Regions from separate parts of the Homo sapiens genome. Here all the other regions are linked to region 1. The links are contacts of gene promoters, found by promoter capture Hi-C in blood cells and fetal thymus (Javierre and others, 2016). All regions are on one chromosome and are shown on one strand. Each heading gives the region's core, a stretch centred on a gene start or on the middle of the fragment in contact. The rest is flanking DNA. Distances are from core to core; before and after follow the strand shown. Region 1 holds the start of ARHGEF26-AS1 (ARHGEF26 antisense RNA 1). Region 2 has its middle 38 kb from the start of STRIT1. Region 3 has its middle 110 kb from the start of P2RY1. Region 4 has its middle 130 kb from the start of P2RY1.

Region 1 (5,387 bases), core at 1,662-4,161:
ATTTTAATTTCTTTGAAACTGGGATGTGTCTTACTATCAAATAAACATCCAGTGGCCAGGTGATAGTGATGATATAGTTGGCATTGCCTATTTTTGAACATGGGCATAAATGAATTGTTATCATTTCTACTAAATTCTATGAAATTTAGTCCTGTTGTGTCAAAGCCATATGCCAAGAAACATAGTTGAAGGCAGGAGAAATTACCAGATATGACAGATTAGGTGAAAGAAATTCTAAAGCAAAGAGAGGTTGATATAACCAATTCATGTATCATGCAGGACTATGGTTAAGGCATGAAACTACCATTTGTGAGAAACTTTCTCCTGGCCATTAATAGAGAAGCTGCATAGCTTGTAGTGACATACAATTCAGTTGAACAAGAAAACTATGTGTTTAGTCAAATGGGATAGTGCCAGCATCACAACTGCAGAATGAGTGTCATTGTCTAGGAGGCAAATCCCAGAAACAAGATTGGAACATCCTTTTAAGAAATGGTGCACTATCAACAATATTGTGTGGAAAAACACACATGAATGCTTTTCATGAAAAGGTATTCAGAAGAATCAGGCTCAATGTTCGGGACTTTGGTAAATTCATTTTGCTTATATTTTCCTTTCCTACATACACACAGTACTAAGCAAATCTATGTATAAGTGTCTAAAAGCACTAAGTATAAAGTAAAAATTCGATATGACATAACATATTGTCATAGTTTTATTAGCAGCTCTTTTCCTTTCTTTTGAGTGGAACATATAATTGAAGATAGGTTAGATTTGAATAGATAACAATAAATTGAATAGGCACTAGGTCTGTGAGTTTGTAAACTTCCCTCAGTGAAGGACCAGAGCTTGGTGTTTTGTTGTTGTTTTGGTAGGTATTTTGTTGTCTGTTGGAAATGAGGTAAGAAGATCCTATGAAGTCGTCACAAATATTGGTTATACTTGTTTGTAGAAGCAACATAATTTCAAGAAAAGCCACCTTCTCACATCACCTTTTACAGCTTCTTAACATAGGTCACAGGTTGCATTTTGAATTAGGTGAATACTCCATTTGTCAGTCGGTAACCACTTCTGAAATTAATTTATTATATTTCCCCAATATAACAGCAATACATGTTGGTATAGAAAACACCTTATATTAAAAAAAAAGTCTATGTACCTACATGTGAGTATGTAATCAGCCATGTCTTCCACCCAATGTGGAAAATTTCTTTCTTAAAAATTTTCTTAGGCCAGGAGCGGTGGCTCACACCTGCAATTCCCAGCACTTTGGGAGGCCAAGGTGGGTGGATCACCTGAAATTGGGAGTTCGAGACCACCCTGACCAACATGGAGAAACCCTGTCTCTACTAAAAATACAAAATTAGCCGCGCGTGGTGGTACATGCCTGTAATCCCAGCTACTCGGGAGGCTGAGGCAGGAGAATTGCTTGAACCCTGAAGGCGGAGGTTGCGGTGAGCCGAGATCGCATCATTGGACTCCAGCCTGGGCAACAAGAGCAAAACTCCGTCTAAAAAAAAAAAAGTTTCTTATACATTTTTCGATGCCGTTTCTTTTTTTCTTTGTTTATGAAAATGTCTCAGATCAAAGTAATATATCTTCATTGTCCAGGATATTTCGTTAAGTATAGAAAAATATAAAGCAGCATGAAACATACTATCCTTCATCTCACCACCCAGAGATCACATCTTAATATTTTTGGCCATTGCATTCAATCTAGGGCAAAAACAGGCAGCATAACTTGCACACAGTGGATGCTCACTGCATCCCTGCTGAATGCATGAATGCAGAAAGAGAACTTGGAGAAGGGCCCATTTGTCTTGCTAATAGAATCAATTATACAGCTCTTATGGTCTAAAATTATTTGTCTTCTCAAGTTTGCCTCATTATTGTCACACAGCAGGAGCCTGGCCAAGACACAGCCATCTTTCTACTATTTGACAACCAAGCACTTTGGAAGGAATGGTCACTGTTTTCACTTCATTCCTGTCATTCATTCTCTCACTCATTAAATAAATATTAAGTGCCCACCATGTGCCGGAAATACGGAGAAGAAAAAAAAACATGACCCCTGCCCTCATGCAAATTACTGTGTAAAGACAAAAGACAATAAACATAAACACATAAATATATATATATACAAAATTTTATAAGTGCAAAAATAGAAGAGAACAAGTGGCTGGGAAAATAAACGGGGCAATGGTATAATTAAGGAGGGGACAGGGAAGGCCTTTCTGACGCAGTGACAAGTCGGGTCAAGAAGGAACGAAAGGGAAGGTTATGAGGCTGTCAAACTTTGAGTGTGGCCAAAAAAATAATGAAGAAAGTGATGGAGGAAAGACTAGGCTGAAGAAGTAGGGCAGTAGTGAAGTGTCTTGTAAGCCATGCTAAGGATTTTGAGTTTTATTCTATGTACTGTTGGAAACCAATACTTTTTTTGTAGTGTAAATTGAGCTTATTTTTCACAGATAGGTTTCAAGATGCAAAGCATACAAGGACCAAAAATAATTATATGAAAACTCTCCCTCCCTCCGGTTTCCTAGCCACCCAGTTTCCCTCTTCAGAGCTGCCAGTCTTTCCTACGGAAAGACTCTAGGCACAAACAAGCCCATCTATCTGTTTATATTATAATGCATTTTCAGCACTGGGACGAGCCCATCTGATTTAAGACCACCTGAATGCTGAGAGGGCATGACTCTGCGTTAGAACTCTGCGCTACTGCCCACGCATCTCACAAAGTCTACTACGCCGCGCGTTCTCGGTTTCAACGCACCTCCAGGATTCAGGGCTTCCTAAGCTGCAATTCAGCAGGGCTCCCTTGCTTGTTCTCACTCTGTGCCCCCGGCAACGACCCCGCGCGCCTACACTCCCGTGCCGCCTCAGCTACTAGTCCGCAACTTCTAGCCCCAAAACGCTGGAGCTCAGAACCCAGCTCAGGTGCGCTCGTCGGTTTCCCAGGGAGACTGGGGCTGATTGTAGGCACGCGGGGGCGGGAAGACAGCTTCTTGCTTCTGGCTGCGATGGAGGCGGATCTGGGCGGGGCCGAAACGGGGGCGGGGCCAAGTGTGGGGGCGTAGTCAGGCGTGGGGGCGGGCCGGCGCCGGCGCCGCGGTCGGCGGCAGCGCTCTCCTAAGCTCTCGCGGCTGCGCTTCGGTCCCGGACCCGGGCCACCCACGGGGTAGTGGGTGCTCCTCGGCCCCGGACATTGCAAGCCCCAGAAGGTAAATTTGCGTGGGAGCCGCGCACCTGGAGCGCGAGGGTACCCATGATGAGGGCGGGAGGCTGGATGGCGACAGAAGGGAGCGTCCCGCGGCGAGTTTCCCAAGAAAGCTGAACTCGTCCCAAGTTTCTTGTGCCTCGGCTTGCACTCAGTGAATGGGTGGCGGGCTCATTTGCTGCGGGTGGTCTTTTGGCGCGGGAGGGACGCGGAGGTGATTGGATTAATCCGCCTGGGCGGCAGCCCAGATTTCTGCCGGGAACCGCGCACCGCAGTGGTGCAGTTTTTGCCCGAGAAAGGGCGGGTAAGTGCGGTGCAGTCGTGTCCTGCGCAGCAGCAGGGGGACCGCCGGTCTGGGAGCACGCGAGTCGGCCAGGCGTCCCCGGTTGTCCAGAGGCACAGTTTCCTAACTTCTTTCCTCTTTAGGCAAGACTAACTCGGTGTTGCTCCTCCCGGCGCTGACTTCGAGGCCCGGCTATGGACGGCGAGAGCGAGGTGGATTTTTCTAGCAACAGCATAACCCCTTTGTGGCGGAGGCGGTCGATTCCTCAGCCCCACCAGGTTCTGGGCCGGAGCAAGCCGAGGCCCCAGTCCTACCAGAGCCCCAACGGGTTACTAATTACGGATTTCCCGGTGGAGGACGGAGGGACGCTCCTCGCAGCGCAGATTCCCGCCCAGGTGCCCACCGCCTCGGACAGCAGGACGGTACATAGGAGCCCCCTGCTTCTGGGCGCCCAGCGGAGAGCGGTGGCCAATGGTGGGACGGCATCCCCGGAGTACAGGGCTGCCTCTCCTCGACTTCGACGGCCCAAGTCACCCAAGCTCCCCAAAGCGGTGCCTGGCGGCTCCCCGAAATCCCCAGCAAATGGCGCGGTGACCTTGCCTGCGCCGCCGCCGCCGCCGGTTCTGCGCCCCCCGCGGACTCCTAACGCGCCCGCCCCCTGCACCCCCGAGGAGGACCTTACTGGGTTGACTGCCAGCCCGGTGCCTTCGCCCACTGCAAATGGCCTTGCCGCTAATAACGACTCTCCTGGGTCAGGTTCGCAGTCCGGCCGGAAGGCAAAGGACCCCGAACGGGGGCTCTTTCCTGGGCCCCAGAAAAGTTCTTCGGAACAAAAACTCCCCCTCCAAAGGCTGCCCTCCCAGGAGAACGAGCTCCTCGAGAATCCTTCCGTGGTTTTGAGTACAAACAGCCCCGCCGCCCTCAAAGTGGGGAAGCAGCAGATCATTCCGAAGAGTCTGGCCTCGGAAATTAAAATAAGTAAATCCAACAATCAAAATGTGGAGCCCCACAAGAGACTCCTCAAGGTGCGCAGCATGGTGGAGGGCCTAGGAGGACCCCTGGGTCACGCAGGGGAGGAGAGTGAGGTCGATAACGACGTGGATAGCCCAGGGTCTCTGCGGAGAGGCTTGCGGTCCACGTCTTATCGCAGGGCAGTGGTCAGTGGCTTTGATTTTGACAGTCCTACCAGCTCGAAGAAGAAGAACAGAATGTCCCAGCCTGTTCTGAAAGTGGTGATGGAAGACAAGGAGAAGTTTTCCAGTCTGGGAAGGATAAAGGTAAAAGTGGGCAGGAGTGTGGCACGCCATTCACTAAGCGGAAAGTAAATGTGTTGGGAGTGGGGAGGAGGAGCGTAGAGGAAACCCGAAGAAGTCATTCCGTTTTAATTCTGTGTTTTGCTCTTGATTGCTAGTGTACATCCAGCTCTTGGCCACTTTGATGCTGGCAGGCACAGCCGAGTTTAGTGCAACTTTGTGGGAAGAAGTGAAATTCATCACTTTTAAATTTCTAAGCTCAGGCAGAATTGGGGGGGACAAGAGTGAAATATGGCAGATTATTGGCTGAGTGAGTCTTTACCACTTTTAAAAGAGATAGCTGAAAGGGGGAGGAGCATGTTCAGAACCGCACTCTGCAGTCAAGTTGTCTGGAGTTTGCTTAGAGGTTTCAGTCAATGATAGCTGTTATCACAGCTGATTCAGAAAAATACTGATTCCTGTTTGAGCCTGTTGATTATTTTTTGCTTTTACTTACTGAATTTTGAGTGGTTACTACGCACTTGATGTCATTCAGGTAGAATGTGAATTTGAAAATCAGTTGCCAGGATCACAAAAGACATAAATATTTTGTCATCTTTTTTGTTGCTTGTTTTTGTCACCGTGGCCTTTGGTT
Region 2 (5,387 bases), core at 1,851-4,350, 1.2 Mb after region 1:
AACAGGGCCATGATATATGCAATGAAGAATTAGATACCTTCTGAAAAACAACTCCTGCTTTGCTCTTGAGCTCCAGGAGGGAAGGAATGCTTGGCCATGGAGCACCAAGAAACCATGAATCCAGAGCTTATCACCATGTGCTTGGTACTATCAGAGCTACCAAATCAGAAACAGAGTTTGTTTCTAGAAAAGGAACTCTGGTCTGTGTGTAAGTAATTAGAGGGTTACTTGGAGAGATAGACGAGTTAGTTGCAGAGACAGATGGGTCCAAACAATTCCTCATAAAAATAGGATGCTACACTTGATCTTAGTCAAAAGGCCAAGAGGTAATTACGTTTGTCAATGTAGGTTCATAAGTTATAACAAATGTACTACTTTGTAGAGGTGTTGATGGTGTGGGAGGCTGTGCGTTTGCAGGGGCTGAGGGCGTTTGGGAACTCTCTGTACCTTCTGCTCAATTTTGCTTTGAACCTTAACTGTTCTAAAAAATAGGCTTTTTTGTTAGATTTACAAATTAGTCTTTGTGCATCTCAGGCCCCCTTGTATCTCCAGCATCACACCCGTAGGCACGCGTGTGCAGGCACCCTCATAATCTCAATCACAGGGTGCTGAGCCTGCTTCCCTCTCAGATTTGCTCTCCCCTCAGGCAATTGGGAAGGGATGATGCACTTTGAGTTTAAGGATCAGAATAATTCACTATCAAAGCATCCAAATTTTATACCAGAAGTGTAGTCTGGGGAGGCCAGAGAAGAGATGCAGCTGAAAAAGAATCACATGACTGGAGAGGGGCAGACCCAGCTGAAATCCATGCCTCCTTATTCCTGCCACCCCACACACCACACTGCAGCCTGGTGGCATCTGGTATTTAGTCTTGGGTCTAGGGCAAATACGAGTGCCAGCGGAATTAGTCATATAAGCTGTTTGAAGGTGAGGGGCTTCAGTAAATTATGCCTATTTGGAGTTAATGCAGTACTGATTCCAGCAGATAGCAATGAAGGACTTCCTAATTCCTACACAAGGTTGAGAAACCCAGTATAAGCTCTTAAATCATAAAATGGTTTTTGTTCTGATCTAATATAAATAGTTTTGTTCTGATCTAACTTTTTTACAGTATCATTGTTCAGGTACAAGAAAAAAAATAAGGCCCTGGTCCTTCCCTTCTGAATGACATTTTTCCCTCTTTGACAATAAAAGATCTGAAATTCAAGTTTATTAATTCATTTGACAAAAATGTGTTCTGCTCTTGTCTGAGCAGGCTCAGAGGAGGCTGCTGTGGGAGGATATTGAGGACAACAGGACATGATGTCCCATCAGATAAAAACTGAAGAGTCTGGTTTATCCATGCAGATACATTCAAAAACAGTTCAACAACCAGATTTTCAAGATAATGGGTTTTTAACAAGACTTGCTTACTTTTGACTCTAAATCTGAAGACTTAACAAAATCATGAAGGTGACTGGATTATGCAATTCTCAGATCTGGCTGAGTTTTTTCAAAACCCTCATCCAGATATTTTGAATTACTAGACCAAAATAGGGGCTGAGATATATCTAGTTTTAATCTCCCCAGTGAATTTCATAAATGTGCTGTCAGGTTTGGGATCTTCTGATGATCTTTGATGTCTCTTCCAATACCAAGGGCCCTTGCTACTGTGAAACACCTTCCAGGGCAACAGAACCAACTCGTACTGGGCCGCTTATCTGCTCAGCTGAAGCCAGAGCGGAGAGTCATGAGAGTCATGAAAGCAGTATATTTGAAAATAAACATGGGCTTTTTATTCTGCACATAGATCTTGAAATGTATAATGTATACACATGTGTATACAAACATTAGTAATATATATCAACCAAAGGTGGTAATCAATATGAAGATTAGAAAATGCTATCGATGCCATTTCCAAAAGTGATCCACTATTTCAGTCTTTCAGAAACCAACATATGGAGCAAATTAATTTTTGAGGAAACACCAACATTTATCATTATCAAACAGAAATCAACATGACACATAATATTGTTCATCTGTTTCACTTGTAAGCCATGAGAACACTGAGAATTGGCATATATTCCATTTTCAGAGAGCCAATTTAAGTCCCAACCAGACAGCACAAAGCTCTGTAACTTACATGGAAATATTTATTAAAACAGTCAAGGGTAACACGCTTAAGGATGAAAGTAACCCTACAGATGATACCTTCTTGTCATCTGCTCATAGCCATATTCCCCTGGATCTGTGCTTGTCAATTCAAGATTGCTAAGTTCCAATAAGTTATTTGTTTGTTTTGATGGAAATACCTGGGATTCTTTTGATAGGGAGCTTGGGACTGTTTGTTTCAGAAATAAAAATAATAATGTACTACTATTAATTATTAGTAGATTTCTTTTTACATGTAAATCCTCAAAGAATCCACTTCAGGAATATGCTGTATTTATGTAGATTTTAGGGTAATAGTCTTCAGCTCTGATGTTCTCCTTCCAGTTCTTGTACCCATCTCTATCAGTACCATCAGTACCATTCTCTTTTTTTTCTTTTCTTTTTTTTTTTTTTTGAGACGGAGTCTCACTCTGTCACCCAGGCTGGAGTGCAGTGGCGTCATCTCAGCTCACTGCAACCTCCCCCTCCTGGGTTCAAGTGATTCTCCTGCCTCAGCCTCCCAAGTAGCTGGGACTACAGGCCTGCCACCACGCCCAGCTAATTTTTGTATTTTTAGTAGAGACAGGGTTTGACCATATTGGCCAGGCTAGTCTCGAACTCCTAACCTTGCGATCTGCCTGCCTCAGCCTCCCAAAGTGTTGGGATTACAGGCATGAGCCACCGCACCTGGCCAGTACCATTCTGTTGATATTTGCTCTATATTCTTAATTTGTGATAATTTATTTATTTTTGTTTTGTTGTTTTATGTGAGGCATTTCCTGGTAGACAACTGTTCACAGGCTGTGTCCTCTCCCCAGATTAAACAAAAGGGACTGTTAGATACAGAATCTTAGTTGAGATTGATGCTCAAAGATCTGAGGTGCCTTCCCTTAGGGGAAGGAGATATGAGAAATACATAGAGTCCATTTTGTCTGGGAACCCACCAACTGAGCATTTACCCGGCCCCTGAATTTATAACTGAGATAGGAGTATTTAGTCAATTTCATAGTCAGTGGTTATAATGTCAACATTGCGTCCTTGGCATGTGGAGTAAGGGGTGTCATGGTGGGGAAGGTCAGATTGAAGCCTCTGAAACTGCTCCCCTCAAATTAAAAAACGTTACATCATATACTAAGGGCAGAGGGATGGCAAAAGTCAATGCTACCCTTAAGGATCTAAAGGATTCAGGGGTGGTAGTCTTTGTGTTATCTTCATTTAATTTTCCAGTGTGGTCCCTGAAGAAACCAGATGGATTCTAGAATAGACTATTGAAAACACAATCATGTAGTAGCCCCAGTTGCATCTGCTGTGCCAGGCATGGTGTTTTTCTAGAGCAGATTAATACAGCCTCAGGTACAAAGGTATGCAGCCACTGACTTGTAAAATATGTTTTTTTTTTCTATTCTAGTCAGAAAAGTGTGTCAAAAATAGTTTGCAGTCACATGAAACAGGCAGCACTATACTTTTACAATTTGCCCCAGAGCTGCGTTAACTCCCGTGTTTCTGGCTGGAATATATTACAAAGACATCTGGACCACCTGGACATCCAACAGAGAATCACAGTGACGCATTGCATACATGTCATTATGCTAATTTATCCGGATGAGTAAGAAGTCTAGCAGGCTGGAGGTCTTAGTAAGACTCATGCACTAAAGAGAGTTGAAGATAAGACTTATGAAGATTCAAAGGGCTACATCAGAAAACATTTGGGGGTCCAGTGGTGAGGGGCATGCCAGTAGATCTTCAAATAAAAGACAAGTTATTGCATCTCACACCTTCTATCCTGAAGTAAGGAGCTCAATGCCCTAAAGTTCTGAATGTGGAATATTCCACACCTGAAAATACTCCTCTAGCCTATCTACCAGGTGACACAAAAGGCTGCTGAACTTGAGTGAGGCCAGGGGAAGAAGAAAGCTCTGCAAGAGCTCCAGGCTGTGGCGGTGCAAGTAGCCCTGACACTTGGGCCTTCAGCCAGAAATCCTTATAGTGTTCAAGATTCTAGTAGCGAGAAAGATGCTATGTGTAATGTGTGGTAAGCTCCAGTGAAGAATGACAGTAAAGCACTGAGGGTCTGGAGCTGGGCCGGGCCATATGCAGTGAATTATTAGACACCTTTTGAAAAACAACTCCTGCTTTGTTCTTGAACTCCAGAAGAGAAGTATTTCTTGGCCATGGGACACCAAGCACCCATGCATCCAAAACGTATCAGCATGAACTTGATCCTATCAGACCTACCAAATCATAATGTCCAGTGCGCCCAGCAGCAATTCATCAAAAGATAAAAATAAACAAGATCAGAGGGCCATTAAAAGTGAACAAGGCTGGGCGCAGTGGCTCATGCCTATAATCTCAACACTTTGGGAGGCCGAGGTGGGAGGATCACTTGAGGTCAGGAGTTCAAGACCAATTTGGCCAATATGGTGAAACCCCATCTCTACTAAAAATACAAAAATTAGCTGGGCATGATGGCACATGCCTGTAGTCCCAGCTACTTGGGAGGCTGAGGCAGGAGAATCACTTGAACCTGGGAGGCGGAGGCTGCAGTGAGCTGAAATGGCACCACAGCACTCCAGCCTGGGTGACAGAGCAAGACTCTGGCTCAAAAAAATAAAGGAAAGGAAATGAACAAGATCAGAGGCCCTAAGCAGGTGCTTGAACAGGTAGCTCAGACACCCTTGTCAAGCACCATGCCATTTCAGCTCAAACCTACAGCCATGTGGGTAATCACTTAGGTGCAGCTGACAGTAGGTTGGTTCAGTAGGTGGTACAAGATGAAAGTGGATAGTAGCTCTGTTGTAGCCTCACTCATATAAGTCCTCGAAAGAACAGTTTCAGATATTCTGGATGTCATCAGAACCAGAAAATAATCTGGCCCATGGAAGTTCGACACTGGCCACACCTGACCCACATTGAAATGATTTATTTTTCAAGTGACTGAGAACCACAATCATTGTCACAGGTGTTCATTATCCAGCAGATGCTATCTTTTTTATATTAACTGGCAACCTGGAAGCCAGGCAGCTGAGCTACCCTCAAGCTAATAGCAATTGATGTTTTTCAGAATCCCAAATCTCTTCAGTTTCTAATATTATCATCTTTATCTGCTGAGGGTATAAGGCTTTTATGTTGGTTCACTGCCCATCAAAAACAAAATGAGTTTTGCCAGAAGCCCACAGGCAGCCTAGGATGCACACACATCCCTAGCAATTCACAGGAACAAATGCAAAGCCTCTTCCCATGTTAATTACATTAAGATG
Region 3 (5,387 bases), core at 762-3,261, 1.2 Mb before region 1:
AATGTTAAGGGGGCCTCAAAAATTGTGGAATCCGCAAGTCCAACAACAGCTGTGTCTGACAGAAGTTAAGTGATTTGCCAAAAATAAAAAACTGAGAAGTGACAAGTTAAGAAACAAAGACCACAAGGGTTATGGTTAAGAAGTGACAACTTAAGAAACAAAGACCCTAGGTTAATCAACCTAGGGTTGATTAACAAGCTTTGATTAAGCACTTACTGCATGCAAAGCAGTGTGCTAGGCTGCAGAGACATAAAAACATACAATACACCCGAGGAGATTTGGGCCTTCCCTTGGGCTGGGAGCTGCCCTGTGCTGTTCCTGTATCACCTAGCTGCCAATACAGAGCCACACATTTGATGAATTTGAGACCTTTTAATCTCAAAACAGCTAACTTCTTAGAGTTGCCAGTCCCAGAGCATTTACCATTTATGCACTACTGTGTTTAAATGTTTACCAATAAAAACATTTCAATAGCCCTCTAAAGCTTGTAATTTTATTCAGAATATTGAGCCTGAATTTATCTTGTTCATGTGTTTCTTTGGCTAGCATCTTTCTTCAAAATAGTTTTCTTTTCTTTCTTTTTTTTTTTTTTTTTGGATGGAGTCCTGCTCTGTCACCCAGGCTGGAGTGCAGTGGTGTGATCTCGGCTCACTGCAACCTCCACCTCCCAGGTTCAATTCTCCTGCCTCAGCCTCCTGAGTAGCTGGGATTACAGGCACGTGCCACCACGCCTGGCTAAATTATTTATTCATTTGTTTGTTTGTTTATTTATTTATTTTGTATTTTTAGATGGGGTTTCACCATGTTGGCCAGGCTGGTCTAGAACTCCTGATCTCAGGTGATCCGCCCACCTTGGCCTCCCAAAGTGCTGGGATAACAGGCATGAGCCACTGTGCCTGGCCCAAAATAGGTTTTTATTTCAGTGAGCCACACATCTTTAGTGTGTTTGCGCACATCCAATATACTGTCCTCTAGTGAGTAGATTCAAAGATCAGCTAATAAGATACTAGTTATCTTCTCATAACAAATCCCAGAACAAACTATCCAATAATATACTTTCAAAGCTGGAGTGAACCTTAGAAAGCATTATAATATCATCACTGCTGTCATTATCTCCTTAAGGGACTTTACAGTGGGCCTGGTTATTTTAATTTTTAACTGCCCTCCTTACAGTTTAGACTTTGAGGGGAATAAGAAAGGAGAAATAATCTACAGGAAGGAATGAGGCCACTGAGATTGAACTGTTTATTCTAAGTAAGAAAACTGGTTAAGATAAATGGTGGACTGGAATCCCGGTGCCCTCTCTCTATTTCACTACTATCTGCTCTCTACCAAGCTGCCCCTTCTTTCTCGTCCCACCATGATGCCCCTGCCATGTGAGGCTTCCCTCTGCTAGCATCCCAGTGTACCTTTAAAAATTAAACTATAGTGTGAATGATAAAACCACTGCAAAATTGTCTTTCATGCCTTGAGATGGTGTTTAAATCTGTTTAATTCTTCACAGGGGTTTTTTAATGGATATCCTGTTTTGAAAGTAATTATCAAGTTGAATAGAATATTGTTATTTCCAAAGCCATCCTAAAACTTATTTCTACTGTTCAAATAAGAAAATTATTTTAACTTAATTTTAACCACCTTTTGAACTTTATAGAGATTAGAAATACATGGACTCAAAAGACATTTAAAAGAGGAGCTATTTGTATTCTAAAAATCTATATATGCATACTTTAATATGATTGATAATCTATTGATTTATTTAAGGACATGAGTACCTAGGTGTGAAATATTTAATTTTAGTCCTTAGTAATAATTCTTAAATACTTTATCTCTCAGGTTTCTCGTATGTAAAGCCATCTCTCAGGGTTTTTGTTTTTGCTTTTGTTTTTGTTTTGAAGCTTAACAAAAACAAGGTTTTTGAGTACCCGGACCCCTTCATGGTACAGCGTAGAAAATGAATAAACGATAGTTTCCTGCCATCCATTAATCCCATCATCAGCAAAACTTTATTCTAAAATTCAAAGAAATTTTTAATAAGCACATTTGCTGTAATGTTCAAGATACTTTGGTAAAAGCAAATTATAAAATATACTTGTATGTTATAGCTGCATTTAACTATGAATGCTGCTAAGAAGCTTTTGATTTTAATTCTATTCAAGGATCAAAAGTGCTGTGCATAAATTTAAGTGTATGATTTTATGGGTTCATGGATTTTCCTTTCCATTGTCGCTTCTTTACAACAGTGTTAATTAATAAAAAGAGATATGATCTTTTTTATGCATTCTCCAGCATTTACTATACTCATCTGTTTATAAAAATGGTTTCCCCTTTCCATTTTCTTTTTTAAATAATTATAGAAGTTTGTGCAAATCTTAATTGTCTAAATGACTTTATGAATTTCTGTTTAGTCACATAAATCTTCATGAAACTTTGTATCATCTATTACAGATATCAGATAATTCCAAGGCATCAGATTTGTAAATAATTATCAATAAAAATTTTGAAAACATTTCCCAAGCTTTCCATTCTAGCATTTAGAAGATCAACCAGAAGACAAAAAGTCAGAAAGTCAGAACATAATGTACAACTGTCTTTACTTTTCAAATGGAACTTTAAAAACTCCAGAAAAGCCTACATGGCATAAATCATTTTTGAAACAGATTATTTTCCTGTTTTATTTTTCCTCTCACTGTATCAGCCCATCAAGGATGTTTGAAGTATTTTTAACCCTGAACTCTGCAATCTAGTGATCGAGCAAATTATTGGCAAAAAGAGCTGCCTGTGCATGCCATTGTGGAGTTCAGCTCATTCATTCATGCTATCCCCAAAATGTTTACTCTTATGAAAAAGGAAATAAAGTAGTGCTAAAGGTTAACTTTTTATTCACAATATAAAGCCTTAAATCTTAATCCAGGTAAATGTATGTGCCTATTCTAGAGAGGATGACCATATGTCCAGATTTGTACCTGTTGTCCCAGAGTAATTATGATTAGTGGCCTTTTTGTCTTCCAAATTGTCCTAGGTTTAATGATAGATTTAAAAGTCACCTTAATTTTTGGTAATGAGCCTAATTACAAATAGCATGTATATTAATTGGTATAAGGATATGAACTTTTGGCTGAGTATGGTGGCTCACCTATAATCCCAGCACTTTGGGAGGCTAAGGTGGGAGGATCACTTGAGCCCAGGAGTTCGAGACAAGCCTGGGAAACATAGGGAGACCCCATCTCTACAAGAAACTTACAAATTAGCTGGGTGTGGTGGCATACACTAGTAGTCCAAGCTTTCGGGAGGCTGAGGCCAGAGGATGACTTGAGTCCAAGAATTTGAGGCTGCAGTGAGCTATGATTGCACCACTGCACTCCAGCATTGGTGAAAGTGAGGCTCTGTCCCCTCCAAAAAGAAAAGAAATGAAGTTTTCTATTCCAAGAGGATAATGACCGGAAGTGAGAGTATGTCATAGTTATATTCAAAATAAGGTTGATGAATTTTTATTTTTATCTACAACTGAATAATAATTCTAAAATTTATCGAAGTTGAACATTTCTTTTTACATAAACCACATATTCTCTGGTGTCCTTGACAATTTTTCAGTGTAAAACATTTAATAAAAGCAAAACAAGGGGAATATCAAAATTATCTGTAATCCCACTTTCTAGAGAGGATAGTTTGCCATTTTTCTGTATAACTAGATACATATCTTTTTGGCAAAATTGGGATTGTACTATTTATACAGTTTTGCATTTTGCTCTTTTTCATTTGTCATCATATCATGACTATTTCACTGATTAACTATTCTCCAAAATATACTGTTCATTGCTGACACATAATGTTCCAGAGTAGGTACATGTTGCTGTTTATATAGCCATTGCCTTAATACTGCACATTTACAGTTCTGCCAATGCTTTCCTATTATATGACTAAATGTATCTGCATTTGCCTGTACAAAACATTAATTAGATGAAATATTTACCTAAATTTACTTGACTGAAAAGTAAGACAAAGTATGCAATATACTTTTAAACCCATTTATTTCAAGATGAAATCATAGATTGCTTTTTCTTTCTTCCAGTGGTTAAACTTTAAAAATTGTTCATGTTTCCCCTGCATTTTTATTTGGCTTATTTGAAAATATACAGAGAATGACCTAGCAGATTTCTCTACTTGGATGTCCCAAAGATATTTCAGTCTCAGATGCCCAAAACTGAAATAGCATTCTTCCAAATCTCTTCCTACCTTGTGTGCCCTGGTAAATGGCATCTTCATTTATCTGACTTCCCAAGCTGGACCTGGCTCATGCAGCCCGCCCTGGTTTTCCTAATAGTTATCTGCCCTTTCTTGGTGCTCTTGTTTGGGCCCTTGTCATTTCTTGCCAGGACCATTGCAAAAGCTTACCGAACTCTCTACCTCTACTCTGAAATGTTTCCTGTTTATTGTCCTCAAAACCAATAAAATGATATTTCTGAAACATAATTCTTAGAATCAAATAAACGGGTTTAGAATTGTCAGTGACTCTTCATTCCCTACAAAGTAAAATCTAAGGTCCTTTAAAAGGTGAATAAGACCCTTCATGACACAGTTCCTTTCTCTCCATCCAACTTCATCTTCTGCCCTTCTGTCGTCTAAGTAACAACACTGACCTTGCAATTCCACAAACTTTCCAAATCCTCTCCTACATTTTTGCTTTTCTTTCTTTCAAGAATTTCCTCCTTCCCTCTCTAAACCTGTAAAATTCCTACTTATCCTGCAAGTGTGAATCAAATGACAGCTCCTCAGAAAGATCTTGATGCTTCTTCTCTGACATTCTTAACACCATAGTGTATATATATCGCTATTATAATATTTATTGCCTTTTATTAAATTAACTTGTACCTCTATCTTGATGTAAGGGACCAATGCTTAGCAAAGTGCATGGCACATAGTAGATAATCAATAAATGCATGCTAAGAGAATGAATGAATGAAGTAGACTTGAGAAGAAGCTGAGAATTCAGCTGGGCTCAGCTTCTCAGTGAATAGTTTGAATGTATTCGGCAATGTTAAACTCACTGCTTTTGGAAGCCACTCTTGGATTTTGAATTGTCATAGATAAGTGCTGTCTTATAGAAATATAAAGTAAAATAAGTCATTTTTAATTATCTAATAACCATGTTTATAAAGGTAAAAAGACACAGGTGAAATTAATTTTAATAATATATTTTATTTAATTCAACATACTCAAAATAATATTTCAAAATGTAAATCAATATTTAAAAATATTAATAGGATATTTTGCATTTTTCATACTAAGACTTTGAATTCCAGTGTGTATTTTAACTTCCAGTTTATTTCAATTTGAACAGCTAAATTTGTTTAAAATATTTGATCTGTATTTTGTTGAAAAATGTAGTT
Region 4 (5,387 bases), core at 1,028-3,527, 1.2 Mb before region 1:
AGTTGAGTCATGAGTCATAAGTCCAGGTGGGGTCAGTCTGAAAAACATCTTTTAAAAAACACTTAGATTCTACAATAATGATGTTATATATAGTAGCAATTGGGGAAGTTACAAATCTTGTGACTTCCTGAGAAGTCAGGGATTATAGAAACTGTGCCTTCATTTTAGCAGAACTCTGGCCTCTCCTATAGTACTAATCTTGTGACCTTTCATTAGTCTTAAAAACAGCCCACGAACAGGGAAGGGATTAGTTGTAGGGAGAAACTATTATGATCCTTGCTTCAAAGTTAAACTATAAACTGAATTCTTCCCAAAGTTAGTGTGGTCTACACCCAGGAAGGATCAAGGATAGTGTGGAGGTCAGAAGCAAGATGGAGTCAACTATGTCAGATTTCTCTTACTGTCATAATTTTGCAAAGGTGGTTTTAGAACTGAAATTAAAATTGATACCTGGAGGTAAAGTGTTTCTATTAAAAAAAAAACCTAAAATATATGTAATTGGCTTTAGGACTAGTAGCTAGCATAGGGCAGAAAGCCCTCAAAAATTATAAATGGAGGCTGGACAGACTGTAAGGACATTGTTATTGAAGACTGAAGAAAAGATTACCCATGTTATGTAGTCGTAAAACATTTGGCAACATTTTTGCTTGCAATAGTATGGAAGATGGCTTGTAGATATAACTAAGAACATTTTCAGATGGCATTTTTTGAAAGTGCCAAGTGTTGTTTTTTAATTGTGTGTGATAAGAAAAAAAATAGATGAACTGAAGAAAAAGTTGTTCTGTTTTCAAGTAGCATATAGAGGAAACATTTCCAATCCCAGAATCACTGGTTTGGAAAATAAATTTTTTTGTCATTCTCAAACTCCCAGGTCACAAAATATACTCAAAGTAAATTGAAACCTAGAGGCAATGCCAGGGCACTGCCAGGAAAACACCACCTCACAGCCAAGATTAGTGCAGGGGTGTGGTTGTAAGATTCTGTGTTGAGATCTCAGAAAAATGTAATGGAGTACCTTTTAGATGCTCCCAGCCAGACAAAAGAACTTCTAAGAATCTTAAGATCAAGTCTCATAGACTCTCTCAGTTAAAAAAGTGGGCCTCCAAGAATCTTTTATTTATTTTATTATTATTTTTTAAATTTTTTTGAGACAGGATCTCACTCTCTCACCCAGGCTGGAGTGCAATGGTGCTATCTCAGCTCACTTCAACCTCCACCTCCCAGTGTCAAGTGATTCTCGTGCCTCAGCCTCCCCAGTAGTCGGGACTATAGGCATGCACCAGCACACCTGACTAATTTTTGTATTTTTGGTAGAGACAGAGTTTCATCATATTGGCCAGGCTAGTCTCAAACTCCTGGCCTCAAGTGGTCTGCCTGCTTTGGCCTCCCAAAGTGCTAGGGTTACAGGCATGAGACACCACGCCCAGCCCCATAAAGGCATTATTCTTATACTCTGTTTATCACATACACAAAAAAGAGCTTCTAAGAATTTTTAAGATGTCCCATAGCCCAAGGTAGAGATAGGCCTGCTTGAAATTTGTAGGTGTTTTTTTCTAATAGAGATTGTAATTTGATACATGGAAAACCCACATCATTTTTTAAAGAATTGTAAAAGCTTGGACCAAATAGTACAAAGACAATTTAAAATTAAAAAGCATCTGGGCCCCCAAGCTCCTATGGGTAGAAAGCAGGCTGAAAAAGCTACACAACTCTAAATGGTAGTTATTTCTATGGAAAAGGAGATATGATTCAGAGGGCAAAATAAAGAGTCCAAAGACTAAGTACATCCAAGAACCACAGAATTCACTCCCAGGGAGTAGAACTGCCCTAATCAAAGAATATTCCCCAATCCCTGAAATCAGAATAAATGACAACTTATGCATAGCTGGATTTCAGAGTTGCTATGAAATGGTGACTTCTATGGACTTCCTACTTTATCCCTTTTTAAACAATTATAGTTGTACCATCCTATATTAACATTTTAAGTTAGGAACATGGATGACAGATAATTTATCTGTTAGTTTATGGTTCTTGGTACCCAAGGAACTGCACCTGAGGAGCCCCATCTATACTGTACCTGATTTAATGACAATGGCTAGACTTTGAGCTCTGTCATGATGGAATAAGGCTTTTGGGATTTTAGGGAATGGTGAGGATATTTTGCATATTGTAGAAACATTAACTGTTGAAGCCAGGGGACAAATTCTGGTAGCTAATCTCCAAAGATAGCCTTCAATATTTTTTTTCTTCTTGGGTGCTTAGGCCATTTCCTAAATTATTTCCTTTTCTTGAATCTGTGCTAAACTGGTGCCTGGTTTTGACCAACAGAATACAGCAGAAATGACATTCCTATGCTTCCAAGCCCAGGCCTTAAGAACACTGACAGTTTCCACTTTGAACCTTTTAGAATTTAGCTCCCTTGCTACAGGAATCCTAAAACATATAGAGAGGCCATGCAGAGGAACCAAGACACCCTAACGCCTCAGCTGAGTTCCCAGCAAGAGCCAGCACCAACTGCCAGCTATGTGAGTGAGCCGACTTGTACTGTAGCATAGCCAGTATCCTGATGACCACAGTCTTAGCCAACAGCACATGGAACAGAAAAACCACTTTGCTGCATACATTCAAACACCCAGCTGAGCCCACTTAACCAACAAAATCACACAGATAATAAAATTGTAGTTTGAGGCTGTTAAGATTTTAAGTGATTTATTATGTAGCAATAGGTAAATAAAACAGGAATTTTTATTCTGATATTGGATCTTCAGTATAGAATAGATTTGTAAAATTCAAAGATACTTCCTGAAATATGTATTTATTTTTTCTTATGAAAAACCTATGCAAAGTAAAGTCTTAATTAGAAAAATTGGTATACAAAGAAAAATACAATAAACTTGTGAACTGCATCTCTTTAACTTGTTTTCTAATCAAAATATATAAAAGCTTTCTTTAAGTCAGCTTATAAATGATTTATTACATTTCAGTTATCTGGTGTTTGCACTGTGATAGAAATAACATTTTATTCTCCCGAGGAAATTTTATTTTTAGAGAACTGCTAAGTTGCTACAAATCTTTAAAGTGCTTTTTAGCCATAGTTTACCTATTTTCATTGTTCTGGGAATGTGTTGTAATTCTTGATTTATGAACTAGAAGACTAGATAGAGTATTGAAATACCAATGCCATAAGACGTGATGTGCAAATTTATAATTTAAATTCCAAATCTGTGATACCTTATTTCTTCATCTTTTTCAGTTTTTCATATTCCCTGAAAAAAGAACCAAAGGGCCACCTATCTTGTTACTCTTGAAGCATAATATTCTTTGACAGTCTGTACACTAAATCACATTGGAAATGCACTGGGAGAATGAGATTCAATTCTTCTTGGCCTCTTCTCTGTTACCACCCACTATACATACAAGAGGTTTTGACCTAACCCTATCAGGAAATTGGTTGCTTTAGAATTTGAAGAGGCAGGGAAAACAGACACATGACCTGACACTAGGCCAGAACTTATAAGCATCTATTTCCAGGATGACTCAGACCCGGCTTCAGAAAGCAGGACGATCGACTGAAAAATACAATGAGCAGAAGCCAGAGGGAAAGAAACTTTGACTCTAATCCAAAAAATAAATTCACAGATCTAAATCCAATAGTCAGTGCCCATGTTACCCTATCAGAAACATTTCCAAAGCTGATCACTCCTTCCTCCTGAAGCACTTCCTTCACTTGGAGTCCATCACAAGTGTCTCTGGTTTTTTTTTCTCCCTGACTGGTCACTGTTGTTCTCAGTCTGAAGTCCTGGCTTCTGTTCTTGCCCCAGCTTCTTAACATCAGAGTGTCCTGGGGCTCAGTTCTTGGTCCTGTATCTTCCCTATCATGCACTCTCTGTTAACCCAGTTGTGTTATTTTAAATACTCTCTGGTAGGCCAACAATCTTCAAATGTATCCCAAATCTTCAGCAGAGATCTCTCCCTGGACCTTTAGGCTCATAACCCTCAACTGGCCATGTACTCTAGGATGGATGTCACAACTTGACATGTCCAAATGGAGCTCTTGATCTTTCCCTCAAACTGTCTTTCTCACACTGGTAAATAGCAACAACATACTTCCAGTTGCTCAGGTCAAAAACCTCAGAGTCATCCTGGATTGCTTTCTTTACTTAAGAGATCACATTCAACCCCTGAGCAAATCTTGTTGCCTCTCTGTTCAGAATATATCCAGAATCTGACCACTTCTCACTATTTTCAAACAAGCAGCCTTGCACCCCTGGATTATTATAATGACTTTCTAATCAGTCTCTCTCCTCCTATCCTTATTCCCAAACAGAAAATTCTTAAGATAGCAGCCAGAGTGAAGTACTTACACTGTTAAGTCAAAGCATATCAGTTCTCTTTTCAAAATCCTGTAATGGCTTCCCATTTTATTCAGCATAAAAACGTTACAAAAGCATTCAGAGCCAATGTGGTCTGGCCCATCCATCCCCTCTTTGACAGGCTCTTACTATTCCCTGCTGCTGGATCACTACTTCAGCTATGCAGGCTGCCTTGCAGGAATTCCTTTGCCTCATTTCTTTCTTTTTTTTTTTTTTTTGGTAGAGACAGGGTCTCACTATGTTGCCCAGGCTGGTCTTGAACTCGGGAGCTCAAGTCAGCCTCCACCTCAGCCTCCCAAAGTGGTGAGATTACAGGCATGAGCCACATTGCCTGGCCTTCTGTTGCCTTATTGCTTTGCACTTGCTGTTTCCTCTCTTTGGAAACCTCCTCCCCTAAATATTTAGGTAAATTGTTTTCTTACCTCTTTTAAATCTTTGCTCAAACATTCCTATCTCTGGATAGCTTTCCCTGATGGTCCTGTTTATTATTGCAACCCACCCACACTTGACACTCTTATCTCCTTTCATGTTTTATTTTTCTCCATAGCATTTACCATCTTCTAGCATTCTGTAAAATTTACTTATTTATTCCTTAACTCTCCATCTCCCCAGCAAGAAAATAAGATCTACAAGGGTGGAGACTTCTGGTTTGTTTGCATTTTTTGCTGATGTGTCCCTGCCATCTAGGACAATGCCTTACATACCACAGTTGCTTAGTAAATATTTGCTAAATGAATGCTGATGCCATGTTACAGAGAGTCCTCTATCTCATCCTCTTCTTTATTAAACAAATTTTCCTCTCTATTAATTGCTCAAGAAAATGGTTTTTTTTAAAAAAAAAAGATACAAATAAAAAAACAAAACTAAAAGTCTCTGTTCTCAAATAAATTGGTCTTAGTATCATACAAAATGTCAAGTTTAGGGCTGGAAATATGGTGAGCTGAGTTGAAAATTGGTTTTAAAAAGAAATAAAAATAAAAATCAACTGGAATTAAGACACAAACCTTGTTTTTT

Evidence for each region. Contacts are between HindIII fragments. The CHiCAGO score rates a contact against its expected background, and 5 or more counts as called.
Region 2: a fragment that was not itself captured here is called in contact with the fragment with the promoter of ARHGEF26-AS1 in region 1 in 1 of 17 cell types (neutrophils); the score reaches 6.2 in neutrophils.
Region 3: a contact is called between a fragment that was not itself captured here and the fragment with the promoter of ARHGEF26-AS1 in region 1, in 1 of 17 cell types (naive CD8 T cells). The highest score is 7.6, in naive CD8 T cells.
Region 4: a contact is called between a fragment that was not itself captured here and the fragment with the promoter of ARHGEF26-AS1 in region 1, in 1 of 17 cell types (total CD8 T cells). The highest score is 5.4, in total CD8 T cells.

What each region holds. Positions count from the first base shown.
Region 1 is chr3:154,118,299-154,123,685 of GRCh38, forward strand. It overlaps ARHGEF26-AS1 (ARHGEF26 antisense RNA 1), which reads right to left and starts at 2,912. Exons shown (of 4, transcript NR_037901.1): 1 at 2,774-2,912. ARHGEF26 (Rho guanine nucleotide exchange factor 26) reads left to right here and starts at 3,092. Exons shown (of 15, transcript NM_015595.4): 1 at 3,092-3,221; 2 at 3,644-4,777. The coding sequence starts at 3,695. The HindIII fragment of the contact is 6,897 bases long and covers 1-5,387 here.
Region 2 is chr3:155,329,241-155,334,627 of GRCh38, forward strand. No RefSeq gene overlaps it. Among named protein-coding and RNA genes, the nearest start is that of STRIT1, 38 kb to the left of the region's middle. The HindIII fragment of the contact is 8,170 bases long and covers 1-5,387 here.
Region 3 is chr3:152,945,711-152,951,097 of GRCh38, forward strand. No RefSeq gene overlaps it. Among named protein-coding and RNA genes, the nearest start is that of P2RY1, 110 kb to the left of the region's middle. The HindIII fragment of the contact is 237 bases long and covers 1,894-2,130 here.
Region 4 is chr3:152,965,057-152,970,443 of GRCh38, forward strand. No RefSeq gene overlaps it. Among named protein-coding and RNA genes, the nearest start is that of P2RY1, 130 kb to the left of the region's middle. The HindIII fragment of the contact is 1,328 bases long and covers 1,614-2,941 here.